3 separate regions of the Homo sapiens genome follow, and all the other regions are linked to region 2. The links are contacts of gene promoters, found by promoter capture Hi-C in blood cells and fetal thymus (Javierre and others, 2016). All regions are on one chromosome and are shown on one strand. Each heading gives the region's core, a stretch centred on a gene start or on the middle of the fragment in contact. The rest is flanking DNA. Distances are from core to core; before and after follow the strand shown. Region 1 overlaps FANCI (FA complementation group I). Region 2 holds the start of TICRR (TOPBP1 interacting checkpoint and replication regulator). Region 3 overlaps FANCI (FA complementation group I).

Region 1 (2,700 bases), core at 158-2,657, 290 kb before region 2:
TGGAGTCTCACTCTGTCACCCAGGCTGGAGGGCAGTGGTGTGATCTCAGCTCACTGCAACCTCCGCCTCCCGGGTTCAAGCAATTCTCCTGCCTCAGCCTTGAGAGTAGCTGGGACTGCAGGCACGTGCCACCACACCCAGCTAATTTTTGTATTTTTAGTAGGGATGGTGTTTCACCATGTTGGCCAGGATGGTCTCAATCTCTTGACCTCGTGATCCACCTGCCTCAGGCTTCCAAAGTGCTGGGATTACAGGCGTGAGCCACCACACCTGGCCAAATTGTCAGCTCTTTATCCTGGCACTGAAGGTGCTTGACAAGTTGATCCCACCCTACCTTTCCATTGTTAAAGTCAGTTATTTACTTTCCTGGATTCTTCACCCCAGCATCATTGATTTCCCTACCATCTTCTGAATATGTCTTAAACTTACCTTTCTCATACCTTTACTCATACTTTTCCCTTTATATATGTAGGCCTTTCTGGTGCTTTGTGCATTTAAATGTTCCCCATCTTTTAGAACCTAGTTTAAGTTCCTTCTCCTCATTGCTTTCCTAATATATACCAACTCATAATGAGCTCTTCTTCCTTTGAACTCCTATTTAAACTCTCCCTTTACCATTTGGTAGGCAATAAACTATGTTTGGAATTAATAGATATTTGATATTGCTCTGTGATTTACCTCTTTAATTCTTTAAAAAAATTTTTTTACTTCCAACTAAATTATTAAAATTTTTGAAGAAAGACTATGTTTTATACTTTTATGTTCCTAATAGGACCATATTACGCTTGTGCATAGTAAAAATTCAGAAATATTTATTGATTTATTTTAGCTTAGAAGTAAGAAGATGTGTGCTACTACTTATGTCTAGGCAGTGTAATCGGTTTCTTCCTTTCTTTTAGGCAGTTTAATTTTTATAGAAATTGAAACTATCATAGAAAAAAGCTAAAATTATCCTGGTTACATTGGAGAAAAAGTATATATAGAATCAGTAGAAATTTGTATTGCAGTATACTTGACTTATTTGAGAAAGGAAACAAAAGACTTCACATTTCTTTCTCCGTATTTTTCTTTTATTTCAGTTATCTTTAGTTATTTGAGACAACTGATTATAGATTCTGTTTTTCAGACCTGCTTTCAAATATCGTCATGTATGCACCCTTAGTTCTTCAAAGTTGTTCTTCTAAAGTCACAGAAGCTTTTGACTATTTGTCCTTTCTGCCCCTTCAGACTGTACAAAGGCTGCTTAAGGCAGTGCAGGTAAGTCTTCAGATTCCCAAGTAACTTGCCAAAACTGAGGTTTAACTGTCTAGTGGAAGTCTGATGCATTTTTGTATAAATATATATGTCTAAGAAATTCTATTCCACTTTAGTCTGAAACATAAAATTTGCATTAAAAGGGCAAGAGCATTGAGCAAGACTGTTTTCCAGGTTTATTTCCTATCCATAACACTATTCTCTCAACTCATTTTCAAGTTAATGAAATAATTAAAACTCTCTTAGAACATTATTGACTACAATAGATTTACAGAGGCATTTGCAACCAGTTTCATTTTAGTGTTTCAGAGTATACTATTGTCCTTGTTAACTGTAATAAACATTAAAACGTATATAAAACAGAAGTAAGCTTCCTTATAGAAGCCATATGGTAACAGTATTGGGTAGAAATGACCTAAGGCTAATAAGCAAACTTGTTCTGTTTTTACCCACTGATTCTTTTTCAGCCCCTTCTCAAAGTCAGCATGTCAATGAGAGACTGCTTGATACTTGTCCTTCGGAAAGCTATGTTTGCCAAGTATGTAGCATCTTTTTCTATCATAGGAAGACGTTGTCTTCTAATGTTGGAGCTAAAGTTATCTCTGCCATCTCCTAGTACCACCTGTTCACAGTGATCATGAGAATTCCTAGCCCCGCAGAGCAATTTCATCAAATAAGGCATTTTGCTAAGTGCTTTATGTGCTTTTTTCATTTAGTCTTCAGAGCAACCCTATGAAGTAAGAATTATTGCAATTCCCATTTTACAGATAAGAAAAGTTAGGCTTAGAGAAGATGAGTGACTTTCCAAAAGTAAAACAGTAGTTGGTGGTGGAGCAAGGATTCAAAGTCAGGTCTAACATCAGAGCTTGTGATGTCAAGTACTTTGCTCTACTACATTAGAATAATCTTCAGGGTAATGTTCTAGTGTCAAATACTCTGAAACCTGAGCTGGCAGCAGTTCCAAAGGGGAAAGTACCTTAGTCAAGAAGATTATACTTAAGAATCTCATTTTAGTGAACATCTGAATTATGATCTAGAGGCTAGTAGATCAAATTAATTGTTGAGGGGAATGAGTTTTATTTGTAGCTTAGCCAGTCCCTCCTAACATCTCTTCCTTTATTTCTTAGTATATAAGCTAGAGATGATCTTGCCATCTCCTAAAAATATAAGACAGTAATATGTGAAAAGCATTTGGTACTTTGAGGATAAGATGCCCAATTAATATCACATTGGCCATATTATAATATATTCATGGGTGTCCAGAGGAACAACTAAGCCATATGCTATTATCTTTGTTCTAGAATTAAAAGTTTTTGTTACTCCTCACCCAAAGGCATAGCGAATAGACTGAGATATTACGTTGTAACATCTTTAACATGAATTAATCATTGCGCCTCAGTGAGAAGACAAGTGTGACATTTTCTGGATGGACAGTTTACATGGCAT
Region 2 (2,700 bases), core at 184-2,683:
AAAATCACATGGAGAGACCATCACAGACAACTTCCGGTACACAATATTATATTAACAGTTTAAAAATATGCATATAAATGCATTTCTATCTATATATAACTTCTATCTATGATTATCTATCTATATATAATTCCTTTTTTTTTTGTTTTGTTTTTTTTTTTTTAGTAGAGACAGGGTTTCACTGTGTTAGCCAGGATGGTCTCGATCTCCTGACCTGGTGATTCGCCCGCCTCGGCCTCCCAAAGTGCTGGGATTACAGGCGTGAGCCACCGTGCCCGGCCTATCTATATATAATTCTATGTATTCTATCTATATAGCGATATATAATTTCTATCTGTAATGCAAATCTACATGTGATTTCTATCTATATATACATGTAGATAGAAAATTTAGGGAATTCACTGCAGGTGCTGCTTGCAGTCCACTTTTAAAACCTAACATTACATAATAAAACACTATTTTAAGAAGCTGCACTAGGCCGGGCTTGGTGGCTCACGCCTGTAATCCCAGCACTTTGGGAGGCCAAGTCGGGTGGATCACAAGGTCAGGAGTTTGAGACCAGCCTGGCCAACATGGTGAAACTCCGTCTTTACTAAAAATACAAAAATTAGTCTGGGGTGGTGGCGTGCGCCTGTAGTCCTATTCAGGAGGCTGAGGCAGGAGGATCGCTTGAACCCGGGAGGTGGAGGTTGCAGTGAGCCAAGATCGTGTCAATGCACTCCAGCCTAGGAGACAGAGCGAGACTCCGTTTCAAAAAAAAAAAAAAAAAAAAAAAAAAAAAAAAAGGAGCTGCACGATGCTCCCCTTGGGCGTGTACCATACCTTATTTAACCATTCCCAAACTGTTTCCATTTTTTCTGATGTTAAATAAACTCTAAGATGTACAGACGTCTTTTATCTGGCTCTCCGATTACCTTCTGCAGATAAACTCCTAGAAGTTACTGGGGCAAAGGGAGTGAACCTTTAATTTTTAATAAAATTTTTTAAATTACAGAAAAAGCCGTAGTCGTCAGATTCTACTTCCTAGGCGGTCCACAGGGATTTCAACAAGTTCGATTCAAACCATCCCAAATTCCCTCCCGGCACTAAGTTTTCCTCGGTCTTGGGAAACGTGGCCCCGCAGTCCGCACTCACGACTGCGCACAAACGCTGGCCTCTTTCCAATGGCGAAACTTCTCGACACGCCCCCGAGGCACCACCTCTTTAAAATTTAAAACGAAGGCCCAGGCCAATGAATGCTAAGCTTCTCTCGGACCACAGAGACCCGCCCACCGTCACTCCCTCCACCAATCAGACTGAAGTTTTCTCCACTGCCCCTCCAATCACCGCCAAAAATGGAAGTTGCTCTCGTAACTTACGTAAGGCAAGCAGCCAATAGGAGCAAACCTTGGAAACTAGCTCCCCCAATAGCAGCAGTTCCTGGAGAGCGCGGGAGCCTTTCGACCAGGGTCCCAAAGGAAAGCAGTGAGTGGTGCTGTTTCCCTGAAGGAAGGGACTAAGGGACGGTGGCGCGGGCCCGGACCGGGGCCCCGGGGCGGCGGCACGGCCGATATGGCATGCTGTCACAAAGTAATGCTGCTGCTGGACACCGCGGGCGGCGCCGCCCGCCACAGCCGGGTCCGGCGGGCCGCCCTGCGCCTCCTCACCTATCTGAGTTGCCGATTCGGCCTGGCCAGGGTCCACTGGGCCTTCAAGTTCTTTGACTCGCAGGGGGCGCGGAGCCGGCCGTCCCGCGTGTCTGACTTCCGCGAGCTGGGGTCCCGCTCGTGGGAGGACTTTGAGGAGGAGCTGGAGGCCAGGCTCGAGGATCGCGCCCACCTGCCCGGCCCGGCGCCCAGGGCCACCCACACGCACGGCGCCCTGATGGAGACGCTGCTAGACTACCAGTGGGACCGGCCCGAGATCACGTCGCCCACGAAGCCGATCCTGCGGAGCAGCGGGAGGAGACTGCTGGACGTGGAGAGCGAGGCCAAGGAGGCCGAGGCCGCGCTCGGGGGCTTGGTGAACGCCGTCTTCCTCCTGGCCCCCTGTCCGCACTCGCAGAGGGAGCTGCTGCAGTTCGTGTCTGGGTGCGAGGCCCAGGCCCAGCGCCTGCCGCCCACCCCTAAGCAGGTGATGGAGAAGTTGTTGCCCAAGAGAGTCCGGGAAGTCATGGTCGCCCGAAAAATCACCTTCTACTGGGTGGATACCACCGAATGGTCTAAGGTAAGGAAGGTTACTGTCGTCTCAGATGGCGTGCACGGTGCTTTCCTTGCTAACCAGAACTTGGCAGCGTCCTTAGAACAGCCACAGACCCCGAATGAGACTAATATGACTATGCGTCCCTTCGGAAGGAAACAAATAAATAGGAACAGTTTTCACAACAAAATGGGTAGTTCCTCACTACCTACTGTTTAAGACCCCTCACAATTTGGGCCCTACCTGCCTTCCCAGACTTGATTTTCCTACACACTACATCTACTCTAGCATATTGAAGTCCAGTCCAGAAAATCAACAGGTCTGGACTGCTTGTTTTGTGTTATGTGTGTTGTTCAATCTGCCTGGAATGCCAGTTCTCACTCTTCCAGGCCAGTCTTAACTTCACTTACCCTTTAAGGCTTCTTCTCCCAGTGACAACTGCTCAGTCCAGCGTCTGAATTGCCATACACATTTTGTGTGGCACTTAACCATTTCTCCATATGTTTTGATTATGCACATCTC
Region 3 (2,700 bases), core at 8-2,507, 260 kb before region 2:
CAGCCTGGCCAACATGGTGAAATCCCGTCTCAACTAAAGATACAAAAAATAGCAGGGCACGGTGGCTCACACCTGTAATCTCAGCATTTTGGGAGGCTGAGGCAGGCGGATCACAAGGTCAGGAGTTCGAAACTAGCCCGGCCAACATGGTGAAACCCCATTTCTACTAAAAAAAATACAAAAATTAGCTGGGCATGGTGGCAGGCGCCTGTAATCCCAGCTACTCGGGAGGCTGAGGCAGGAGAATTGCTTGAACCCGGGAGGTGGAGGTTGCAGTGAGATGAGATCACACCACTGCACTCCAGCCTGGGCAACAGAGCATGACTCTGTCTCAAAAAAAAAAATTAGCCGGGCATGGTAGTGCGTGCCTGTAATCCCAGCTACTCGGGAAGCTGAGGCAGGAGAATCGCTTGAACCTGGGAGGCAGAGGTTGCAGTGAGCTGAGATCGCACCATTGTACTCCAGCCTGGGCGACAGAGTGAAACTCCACCTCAAAAAAAGATGCTTCTCTTCTGGCTCTAATTTTAGTCCTGCCCGCCCGGATCAGTTGGAATGGGCAGGGAACAGGGTTGATCTAAGGAGTTCCAACAGGGCCCCATCTTGGACACAACCTCTGGGAAGATGGTTCACTTCCCACTTGGTCAGTGAGGTCGATCCGTGACTGCTTCCTTGCCCTCTTCTGCTGCCTTCACCCTCTTCCATGCTCTACCCTGCCTTCCAGGGCCAAAAACAGATTACTGCATACCAGCCCCTCTGGAATGTCTGCAGTTCCTTATTTTCCAGAACGTGGCATGTGGAACAAGTCTCCTGTTTCTCTCATGGCTCCAGTTGCAGAGCCTCTCTGTATTTTCAGGTCTGTTTCTTTATTCTGTTGCCCTCGTGGAGCATGGTATGTTCCCTTCCTAAGAAGGTTTAGAACTCCCCTTGAGGTAAAAAGCTGCCTACATTTCTGTACCGTACCTTACATTTGGGTGGTTTTTCTCCCCAGTCTCTCCTGACTCAAGTCTTGATTTTCTTTTGCTTTATCAGAATCTTACACTTTTTGGTTCCTTTTATTAGTTATTCATCCCTCTCCAGGAGCTCTTTATTACCCAATAATTTACAACACAGGGAAGTGTTCTGTGACCCTTTTAACCCTTCTTGAGCATGATAACCCATTGCACATAAAATATATCTGGTTTTGGCTTTGCTGAGTAACGAAAATAAAATATATCTGGTGATTGCCTGTAAGTGGGAAGACTGCAGGGCCCTGCAGCAGCCTCCTCAGCTTCCTCTCCTTTATGGGATCCTTCTAGCCCACTGGCTAAAATAGAAATAGAAATGAATATTCCTGCTACCACCTTGACAGTCCCCATTTTAACCATTCTTTAGTACCTCACCAGCCCCTTGGCTGACCCACTGCAGTAATAGTCCTGCCTTCAACTTCCATGTGCCAGCTCTAAGAACAACAGATTGTAAACCTCTCAACAACTAAAAAAGAAAAAATATCTGAGGATTACAAAGCATCCATTTTTTCCCTATCTTCTAACATCTGTTGCACAGATAGTCCTGTTTACTCCAGACTTGGTCCTCATACCCTGTGTAATTACCTTCTAAGAAAATTGCCACTAGTTGGTGGGCATGGTGGCTTAGGCCTGTAATCCCAGCACTTTGGGAGGCTGAGGCCGGCAGATCACCTGAGGCCAGGAGTTCGAGACCAGCCTGGCCAACATGGCAAAACACCGTCTCTACTAAAAATACAAAAATTAGCTGAGTGTGGTGGCACGTGCCTGTAGTCCCAGCTACTCGGGAGGCTGAGGCACAAGAATCACTTAACTCGGGGCGCAGAGGTTACAGTGGGTCGACATCACGCCACTGCACACCAGCCTGGGTGACAGCAAAGCTCTGTCTTAAAAAAAAAAAAAAAAAAATTAGCACTAGCATGCTAGCTCCACAGAAAAATCATCAGGAATAAGAGAATGTGTTTCTATTTCTTTAGAATAAGAGTAAGAGCCTGAACTATACGGGAGAGAAAAAGGAGAAACCTGCTGCCGTTGCCACAGCCATGGTAAGCTGCTGACACTGACCGTTAAAATATGCTTGTTGGTGAACCCGAAAACATGAAGCGGAAGAAGCCAGTGACAAAAAGACCACGTGTTGTATGATTCCATTTTCATGAAGTGCCCAGAATAAATCATCTAAAAAGGCAAACTAGATTAGTGGTAGCGTAGAGCTAGGTGGGTTGGAAGATGGGGAGACTGGGGTGACAGCTAAAAACGGTATGGAATTTCTTTTGGGGGTGATGAAAATGTTTTAGAATTGACTGTGATGATGGTTGCACAACTCTGCAAATACTGAAAAAAAAGTACATTGTGAGTGAATTGTATGGTATATGAATTACAGCTCTATCAAGCTGTTAGAAAAAATTGTGTGTATTATATACATGGCTGCTTCTCAACTCAGGGATTTTATGATCAGATGGAGCATCTTATTTTTCCTCTGAACCAAAAACATGTTTTATTCACGAAGCACCAGAAAATCTTGAGTTGAAATGGAAATAGTAAAATAACTTACGATACTCAATTGGGAGAAATTATTTTTAGGTAAAGTTGGTGAATGCAAAAGGTGCTCCCTAAAAGATGTGTAAGAGTCAGCGGGGGTACAGGAAAGGAGGCACTTAGTACATTGCTGGCAAAGGTGAAAATTAGTACAGCCTCTCCA

The links. The method cuts DNA at HindIII sites, captures the fragments that hold promoters and counts their contacts. A CHiCAGO score of 5 or more calls a contact.
Region 1: a contact is called between a fragment that was not itself captured here and the fragment with the promoter of TICRR in region 2, in 1 of 17 cell types (erythroblasts). The highest score is 5.2, in erythroblasts.
Region 3: a fragment that was not itself captured here is called in contact with the fragment with the promoter of TICRR in region 2 in 1 of 17 cell types (erythroblasts); the score reaches 5.6 in erythroblasts.

What each region holds. Positions count from the first base shown.
Region 1 is chr15:89,280,044-89,282,743 of GRCh38, forward strand. FANCI (FA complementation group I) reads left to right here. Exons shown (of 38, transcript NM_001113378.2): 15 at 1,127-1,257; 16 at 1,722-1,792. Among named protein-coding and RNA genes, the nearest start is that of FANCI, 37 kb to the left of the region's middle. The HindIII fragment of the contact is 429 bases long and covers 1,194-1,622 here.
Region 2 is chr15:89,574,036-89,576,735 of GRCh38, forward strand. TICRR (TOPBP1 interacting checkpoint and replication regulator) reads left to right here and starts at 1,434. Exons shown (of 22, transcript NM_152259.4): 1 at 1,434-2,205. The coding sequence starts at 1,552. RefSeq lists a silencer at 1,422-1,711 and an enhancer at 1,833-2,361. The HindIII fragment of the contact is 7,754 bases long and covers 1,242-2,700 here.
Region 3 is chr15:89,310,926-89,313,625 of GRCh38, forward strand. FANCI (FA complementation group I) reads left to right here. Exons shown (of 38, transcript NM_001113378.2): 35 at 1,979-2,047. Among named protein-coding and RNA genes, the nearest start is that of MIR6766, 15 kb to the right of the region's middle. The HindIII fragment of the contact is 9,693 bases long and covers 1-2,700 here.